2 separate regions of the Homo sapiens genome follow, and region 2 is linked to region 1. Evidence: promoter capture Hi-C in human tissues and cell types (Jung and others, 2019). All regions are on one chromosome and are shown on one strand. The core of a region is centred on a gene start or on the middle of the fragment in contact, and the rest is flanking DNA. Distances in the headings are between cores, read along the strand shown.

Region 1 (4,344 bases), core at 1,288-3,787:
CCCAGGTTTCAGACTTTTATGTCCACGCGAACTCCTACCCTCTGTGATGTAAACGGAGATGCAGCCCTTTCTGCTATCTGGCCTAAGAGACAGAAGGAGAGGTTCCCCGCAAATACGGCTCTCAGGCCCCCTCTGTGAGCGAACAGAGTAACAGCACCCTAAAGACCAGAGCTCTTCCTGACAGTCTGGGAAGGGCCTGAGCTCACAGCTGGGGACATTCAGAGTATGTAGGGGGTGTGCACTGTCACATCTGGGCATCATTAAGCAGGTGGGAGTGACATGGCCACCAAGGAGAAGGAGAGTTGGTCACATCTAGGCTGCCTGCCCCCAAAGCCCTCGCATTTACAAATCAGCCAGCCAGAGGGGCTTCAGCTGGGGATGGAGCAGGTTGCCAGGGGGAAATGTTGTTTGAATTAGGTGATTGAAACGCTGTAGGCAAGGCAGGCCAGCTTCTCAGACATTTTTAATAAATGCTTACGGTTCTTCTTCCAAAGCAGGTGAAAGGAGAATATATAAGTAACGATATATTTGCGGTGGCTATGCCTATTCCACAGCAATCACAAGGGGTGTCCTTGGGGTGGGAGTGCGCCTGGGAAAGAGTTGGCAATCAGTGAGTGACAGTCCTAGACTTCAAGGACCAGAAAGACTAGGCAGCCGTGGGGGACCAGACTAAGTAGGACCACGAGAGAGAGTAGAGAGAAGCACTGTGGCAAAAGATGGAGGGTCTCACTAGCTCTTTATTTCCCAGAAGAAATATCAGACACGCAGGGTAGACTTCTGCATTAAGCACCGCAGGCCCAGTGCCAGGGACCATAGTCTTTTGGGGCCCATGAAAATGTTTTGATTTCTTTTAAAATCAGAAAAAAATAAGTAAAGCTTTAGGCTGAAGAACATGTTTTAATATGCAATATTAATATACTTTTCCTTATGCCAACGCAGTTGCAAAATCTTATTTTTAATAATTTTGTTAGCAGGGAAAGGAGTCCACCGAGGCGAAGGCACCTGAAATTTTCCCAGTGCCCGGGAAATTTTAACAGAAGCCTGTTAACCCCAGCTGAGCTTCGTGGAGTAGGCGCTAGCTCTGGGCCACAGCAGAGGACGCCTCCGGGCTCTCTTGTTTGAATTCCTCCACCAATGTCCGGTTCTTCTACTCTTTACAAGCTGGGCTCCGAAGGAAAAAAGAAGAAACAAAGAACGCACGCTCCTTGGCACCAACTTCACTTTCTCAGGCTTCTGCAGGTCCCAGGCCTCCCGATGTCTCCCCCTCCGCCCTGAGCATTTCCAGACCTTGGAGAGCCTGACTTGGGAAGGGGAAACTGGAATCAATCGGTTGACCGACCCCCTTTTCCCAACCGCCGCCTCCCCACCAATCACTCCATGTCCGGAAGGGGGCTGGGGGCTCCCGACTATAGGAGACTCTGGGAGTCCTATGAGGCCTTTGAGACAGGGGCGCGAGCGAGGCTGGAAGGAAAGGCTGGGCAGAGAGCGGAGGGGCTCGCGCGCATCTCTCCCGGCGCGGCAGAAGGTTGGCACTGCTGCCCCCCTGCGGGTCCCAGAGCCGCTGGGCGCCCGCGGCCGCGCAGTCGGATTGTATTTCTGCGGGGCTCGCTCCCGGGCCTGGCTCGGGGCCGCCGCCGCCGCCGCCGCCCCTCCCGGCGCGCAGGCTGCTCTCCAGTCGCGGCCACGGGGTAGCGCTCGGCCCCCCTCTCCGCGTCTCCGCCTCCGCCGCGCTCGTCCCCGGCTCACGCTGCCCCCGCAGCTCCGGCTCGGCGCAGGCAGGAGCGGCTCTCTGGACGCCGAGCCCGGGAAGCGGAGGGCGGCGGGCTCGGCGAGCGGCAGCGGCGGCCGAGGCGCTGGGGCGGCCGTTGCTCCTCCGGCCCGGGAGGTCGGCGATCGCCGGGCGTCCGAAGGGGCGCCGCGTCCCCGGAGCCGGGGCTGCCCGCCGGGCTCTCCGTGCGTCTTCCCGAGAGCTCCGGCCGGGGCGCGGCGGAGGGCAGAGCCGCCGGTCTCCATCCTCGGGCCGGCAGGAGGCTCTGCGCCCGGGCGCCGGCGACAGCCCGCGTCGCGAAGCCCAGCACCCTCCCCCGCCGCCCCGCGGCTGGCGCGGACATGGGCGCTCAGGGCTGCGCGCCCGGCTCCGGGACCCGCAAAGTTTGCTAGCCGGCTGGGCGCGGAGCCGAGGGCGCGCCCGGCCCCAGCGCCCCCGGAGGAGACCCGGCGTCTCCCGATTCGGCGCGAGGGCGGTGGAGCCCAGAGGGGGTGGTTCGGCCCCGCCAGATGCTGCCTGCAAAGTTAGAGAGAAGAAAACTTCAGCTCCAGGGAGATTCGGACCGCTATGCTCACCGCGTCCCCCGAAACCGGCGCCCCTAAAAGAACCCCCGCACCCGCGTCTGCCACTGCGCTCGGCTCTGGCCGGGTCCCGGGGGCCCGGCGCCTGGAACGGCGGTGACTGCGTCGGCCGGGAGAACCCAACCAGGGGGCGGGGAGGGGGCGGGCAACGTGGCCACGGGAGGAAGTTTCCTGAAGTTGTCCATTTATTCCGGAGCTCGGCCGGCGACCCGGCCGGATCGCAGAGGCCGCCCTGTTTGGGAGAAGTCGGAGTTGGGGTGCTAAGGGAGAGAGGCGCCCTAGTCCGAGAGGGCGGCCTGGCCTCTTTCTCCCTGCTCGCCCCTCGCCTTCCGGGCGCGCTGCCGGGCTCGGACTAGTACAGAAGAGGAGGAAGGGTTGGGGTAGCCAAGCGCTGCCCCTCCCGGGCATATTACACCCCGGGGCACGGAGCCGCGTAGACTGACTGTTTCCTGGGACTAAGCCACGGGGTATCGGACCCCACCAGGATTATAAAACAGGGCGGAGGGAAGGGAGACCCCGAGGACCCCTCTCCAGGCTGGTCACCATGTGGGGGCTTTTGATCTGGACACTGCTAGCTCTGCATCAGATCCGCGCGGCCAGAGCCCAAGGTAAGGAGGGACCCCCACGTGGGGACAGGGAGGGGGCTGGGAGAGTGGGCGGGGGAGGGGCGGCGGGAGCTGGCCGGCCTCACGGTGACCTCCTGGACACCCGGCTTAGCCGTGGCAGAGCCCTCTCCAGGGAGTTTCAAGACACCCCATCTCCCAAGTTTTGGGGCTCTTTTGGGGGTGGGGCAGTCTCTCCGAGACTTGTGGCTTCCGAATGGGGGAAGGTGGGGACGACCTGGGGAGGCAGAGAAGAGCCCAAGGTGAAGTGGGAGGGGCGCTCCCCTCCCCCCGTCTGCTGTGGCTGCCCTGCGCCGGCTTGGGAGGGGAGCGACATTCCGTGCCGGGCTCCACGCTCGGCTACGCTGAGCTTCCCAGACCGAGCTCCTGGTTCCCTGCTCGGTGTCTGCGGGGAAGGGCAGGGCCCCTGCCGGGCAGGCGATGGCCTCCCCGGGGCGAGGGAGTGGGGTGGGCGAGCGCTGGATGCCGGGTTGCTCGCCCGGGGAGAGCAATTGCCCGGCTTGGCCACGTACGGGAGCCCGCCCCTGGCTGCTCGGCCAGCCGCTGGGGCTGGGGGTGCTTCGCTGCGCGGGCCTGGAGCCAAGGTCGCGGGTGCAGCCGCGGACCCACCGGGGGGTGGTGCACAGGGAGGGTCTGAGGCCTCCCCTCCTACCCATCCACCCACACCCAGCATCCCCGCCCCTGCCTCCAGCCTCCGCTGTTCGCTCGATAGTCTGTGCAGCCGCTCGCTGCTGTGACCTGTGGCTGCCGGGAGCAGCCTCGCGGTGGAGAAGGGCTGGTGGCTTTGGGTTTGGGAGTGCTACGAAGGATCCGAGGTGTGATCTGCGCTGCCCGCTTCCTGAGGGTGGATGCCCAGACGTCCCCCTGGTCCCCGGGCAGGTCCCCGAGGTGAAGGGCGGCTGCACCGGCGGTTCCTCGACTTTGGGGTTCGCCGATCCAGACAGTGGTGTCAGCGGTGTCCGAGCGGCGCCTGCTGGGGGCGGAGGGAGACGAAGCCTGGACCGAGCTCCAGGACTCGCAGGGCTAGGCCTTCACTCTCGCAGGCTCAGGAGGGGGCCAGACCCACCCTAGGGGTCCGGACTGTGGGGGCTGCAACCCACTCCCCACGCCGCCTCGTGCGCCAGGCAATCCAGAGAGCCAAGATCAAAGAGATGAAAATAATCAGCTCTCACTCACAGGGCTGAGGGGAGGATTTTACGAGGTAATTTACATAAAAGCACTTCGAAATTTTGTAACGAGCCCTATAAATGTAGGGTAATAAAAGTTATTATTTTTATGATCATCATAAAATCTTTGAACAAGCGAGGACCTCAGAGGTCATCTTATTCTAGTAGCCATTTAACAGATAGGGAAACTGAGGCCAAATGGCATT
Region 2 (4,344 bases), core at 932-3,431, 400 kb after region 1:
TGTCCAACTCCAAAATGAACACAGACAAATGGAAAACTAGGAAGACAACACACATTTTAACATTTTTTTCCTCTCCTCTTTAGCCTTGCTTAACAGCCCGAAGAGAAACTTTTCCAAATGCCCAGAACCTGCAACAGAAGACAACAGTCAAACTCCAGCCTCACCTTTTTGTACAGCTCCCAAGAGCCTCATTAGAGAGAAGTTGGAGGTTGTAAGTCCGGCAGGGGGTTCCAAACTCCTTATATGAGTTGAGCTTCGTTCCAACAAAGAAACTATGGTTCCAAACAGAAGTCACTGTCATTGTTTACCGAAACGTACCCCCTTCCCTAACATCCAGTGCCGAAGGATCCACGGCTAAGCCTCAGGAAGAGCATATTCTAAACAGGTGCATTAAAGATTTCTGCATTGGACTGCAGCTAAGTGTTGAAAGTCAAATCAATTACAGGTTGAAAAAATGTTTTTCAAAAGGCCAAGGGACCCCTGAAAATCAGGGCGTCTACTTGTTTTTTGGTCTGCTGAGTACCCTGGCCAGGTGATTGATGCGCATGTGCTTCATGAAGTGAGTCTCTTACATCATCTTTTTGTTTTTGACACAGTCTCACTCTCTCGCCCAGGCTGGAGTGCAGTGGCATGATCTTGGCTCACTGCAACCTCTACCTCCTGGGTTCGAGTGATTCTCCTGCCTCAGCCTCCCGAGTAGCTGGGATTACAGGCACACGCCATCACGCCAGGCTAATTTTTGTTATTTAGTAGAGACGGGGTTTCGCCACTTTGGCCAGGCTGGTCTTGAACTCCTGACCTCATGTGTTCTGCCCGCCCCAGCCTCCCAAACTGCTGGGATTATAGGCATGAACCACTGCGCCTGGCCTCTTTTACATATTCTATCATCTGCTAAACATGTCAGCTAAAAGCGTGACTTTCTCCTTTTATGATTGTGACTTGCCCACAGTCAACATGCCTGTTCTATCACCCTATCGCTATTATTGGCCAGCAAACATTTCCTATTTATGTTCAGTGCATGAATAACTTAAGCAGAACCAGAAAAGAGGGCTTATGCAGGCCGGGCGCGGTGGCTCACGCCTGTAATCCCAGCACTTTGGGAGGCTGAGGTGGGTGGATCACGACGTCAGGAGATTGAGACCATCCTGGCTAACACTGTAAAACCCCGTCTCTACTAAAAAACAGAAAAAATTAGCCGGGCGTGGTGGCGGGCGCTTGTAGTCCCAGCTACACGGGAGACTGAGGCAGGAGAATGGCGTGAACCCAGGAGGCGGAGCTTGCAGTGAGCAGAGATCGCTACACTGCACTCCAGCCTGGGCAACAGAGCAAGACTCTGCCTCAAAAACAAAAAAAAGAGGGCTTATGCTCCTTAATCACATTTCTCCTGTACATGGTTTTCTCCATGTTTTATGACAGGTAATCTCTACTACTGATAGTTCTCTAGTCTTGGTTTGGTTCATCAAGATAAAGAAGAAATTAAACACCGACAACAGGTTTAGCAAGTGTGGTAAAAGTTGCTGTGGATGTAAAAATATCCAAATGATCATTAAAGAACAATGAAAAGAATCATGCTGGCTTCCAAGAAATTGCACAGAAGATAATTCTCTTGCAAGGTGAAGGTTAGTCTCTTAAAAAAAAAACCCATTCATCTTGGAAAAAATTTGAGGAAAACGGTGTAAAGAGACAACTTCCTGAAAATTGCAACCATGTTGTCAGCAGTGTCAGGATCACGTGGCTCCCTGACCTTGCCCTGCTTTCTCCAGTCAGGTGAGCCTACTGTCCTGACCTGCAGTTAATTCAGTAACTGTTAGCTCACTGGCCCTGCCTTTTAAGTACCAAAGGAATGAGTTGGCTTCCTGAGAAGGGCAAATGACCTATCAAAGGTCTTGCCTGAGTGAGAAAAGGTATAGCCCATTCTCTTGTGCAAAGATTCCAATAAAACTCTAATTTGCAGTCATTGGAGACAGTCATTGCCTGGTGAAATTACAAAGCTTTTTAAGGAGCCAATGGCACCATCTTTTAATCCCTATAGATTGATATGGCCTTGAAGTCCTTGGCCAATGGAGGGATCAGGGCTTGACCTGATCCTAGGGTCTCTCTCCTCTAGTATCTTGTGTTCATTTGGTGGTAACATCAAAGTCTGAACACTGATCCTGGATCCAACTTCAATAGTTTTTCAGTTTATAATAGAAGTAGAGGCCCTATGATGATTACACCTTATTTACTGTCTTGATGTAGAAGTCCCAAACTAAGTACAACATTTATTAGTTACAGACTATGAGCAATAAAAGGGATTAAAATAGTTTCTCACCACTATTTGGAAGGAACTTGTTACTGAAGAAAAAATTCTATTTTCCCTCCTATATCCTGTCTCATAACCTTGGTAATTTAATGTTTTAAGTTACTGTATCTTATTATTGTATTCTTAGGAGCTAACAGTGAAATGTATCAATAACATATCAAACAAGGTATTGACTTCTATCTGTGGTCTTTAAACTCTACTTGAGGCTTACTGTTTGGGAGAGTTAGTAGTTAATACCTCCAGGTTCACCTGACTCTTCTATCTGTGGTCTTTAAACTCAACTTGAGGTTCACTGTTTGGAATAGTTAGTAGAGTCAGACGAACCTGGGTTTGAATCCTGATTCTGTCACTTACTGCATGAACATAGGGAAGTCACTTAATGTCTGAAGCTCAGGCCAGGCCTGGTGGCTCACACCTGTAATCCCAGCACTTTGGGAGGCCAAGGCGGGAGGATCACCTGAGGTCAGGAGTTCGAGACCAGCCTGGCCAACATGGCAAAACCCCATCTCTACTTAAAAAAAAAAAAAATTAGCTGGGCGTGGTGGCAGGCACCTGTAATCCCAGCTACTCTGGAGCCTGAAGCAGGAGAATCGCTTGAACCTGGGAGGTGGAGGTTGCAGTGAGCCGTGATTGTGCCATTGCACTCCAGCCTGGGAGACAGAGCAAGACTCTGTCTCAAGAAAAAAAAAAAAAGATGTCTGAAGCTCAGATTCCTCAAGAGGAATAAGAGGGTGGGACAGTGGTGTCACTCAGAGCTGTTATGAGGATTAAATGACATAATGTATCTAGCATAACGATAGTCATAGTCATCACAGATAAACGTCAGGTCCCTCACTTTTTCCTCTAAAATGAAAAGTGTGTATCAAGGACACTCCTAAGCACTATAAAATGTAGTACAGAAAATACACAAGTCCTTCAATTTGGTAGAGAGATTTATCATGGGGGGAGTGTGTGCATCTGCAACTGAAAAACACAGAAGGCTGGACACGGTGGTTCACACCTGTAATCCCAGCACTTTGGGAGGTTGAGGCGGGCAGATCACCTGAGGTCACGAGTTCAAGACCAGCCTGACCAACACGGAGAAACCCCATCTCTACTAAAAATACAAAATTAGCCGGGCGTGGTGGCGCATACCTGTATCCCAGCTACTTGGGAGGCTGAGGCAGGAGAATCGCTTGAACCCAGGAGGCAGAGGTGAGCCAAGATCACACCACTGCACTCCAACCTGGGCAATGAGCAAAACTCTGTCTCAAAAAACAAACAAACAAAAAAACAAAACACACACACACACAGAAAAGTATGGCACTATAACAAACATGGTTTTAGTTATGGTGTATTTTCTACAACATGGTTTAGTGGAAAAGATTAAACTAGGCCTCAGGAAACTAGGTTCTCCTTGCAGCTCTACTATTTATTGGCAACACAAACTTGGACAAATCACTTATGCTCTCTGTGCCTGTTTCATCATCCACAAAATAGGATAAATTCACTCTGCCCACCTCTCTGTCCACCTTGTGCCCAAAATAAAAAAAATACAGATGGAGGCACTCTGAAAACCACAAAGCAACACAAATGTTAATATAATTAAATGTGTTTATTACGGAGAAGGGGCTTGACTTTGTGACTACAACTTTGTGCAAAAAGGTCTAGACGTTAGGCCTGTTTATAGAAGGTAGTTAAAGAAAATGTAGCTTTGGGCTAGCAATGTTCTGCTTTTAGTACACATCCATTTTGAGACCAGGCAAATAGAGGTTTAGTGAATATGAGATCATTTGCAAAATCTACCAGAGAAGAAAATGATTTCCCTTTAGGAAGAGATAATACCAGTTTTTCTCTTGCAAACCTATTCTGAGTTGTTACAGGTCTCCTGTCAAAATAAGCATGAAAGCACCAATGGCCACTACACACGACAGGTATGCTACTTTACAAACGACAGGTATGCTACTTTACAATCACCCTGCCCCTAGAAAAGCTTAAGAAACTTTATGTATTTTAACTAGAGAGGTGGTCTCATAACTAAAGATGAGATTCAGCAGAGAAAA

What was found. The method cuts DNA at HindIII sites, captures the fragments that hold promoters and counts their contacts. A contact is called where the count stands out against the background at its distance.
Region 2: a contact is called between a fragment that was not itself captured here and the fragment with the promoter of SDK2 in region 1, in 2 of the 25 tissues and cell types used here (hippocampus and thymus).

The regions. Positions count from the first base shown.
Region 1 is chr17:73,642,638-73,646,981 of GRCh38, reverse strand. It overlaps SDK2 (sidekick cell adhesion molecule 2), which reads left to right and starts at 2,537. Exons shown (of 45, transcript NM_001144952.2): 1 at 2,537-2,957. The coding sequence starts at 2,894. It overlaps LOC124904054 (a long non-coding RNA gene), which reads right to left and starts at 1,508. Exons shown (of 2, transcript XR_007065893.1): 1 at 1,288-1,508; 2 at 878-1,161. The HindIII fragment of the contact is 11,047 bases long and covers 1-4,344 here.
Region 2 is chr17:73,238,172-73,242,515 of GRCh38, reverse strand. MTNAP1 (mitochondrial nucleoid associated protein 1) reads right to left here. Exons shown (of 6, transcript NM_001351264.2): 4 at 165-272. It also overlaps a transcript of CPSF4L not described here. Among named protein-coding and RNA genes, the nearest start is that of MTNAP1, 7.9 kb to the right of the region's middle. The HindIII fragment of the contact is 5,599 bases long and covers 1-4,344 here.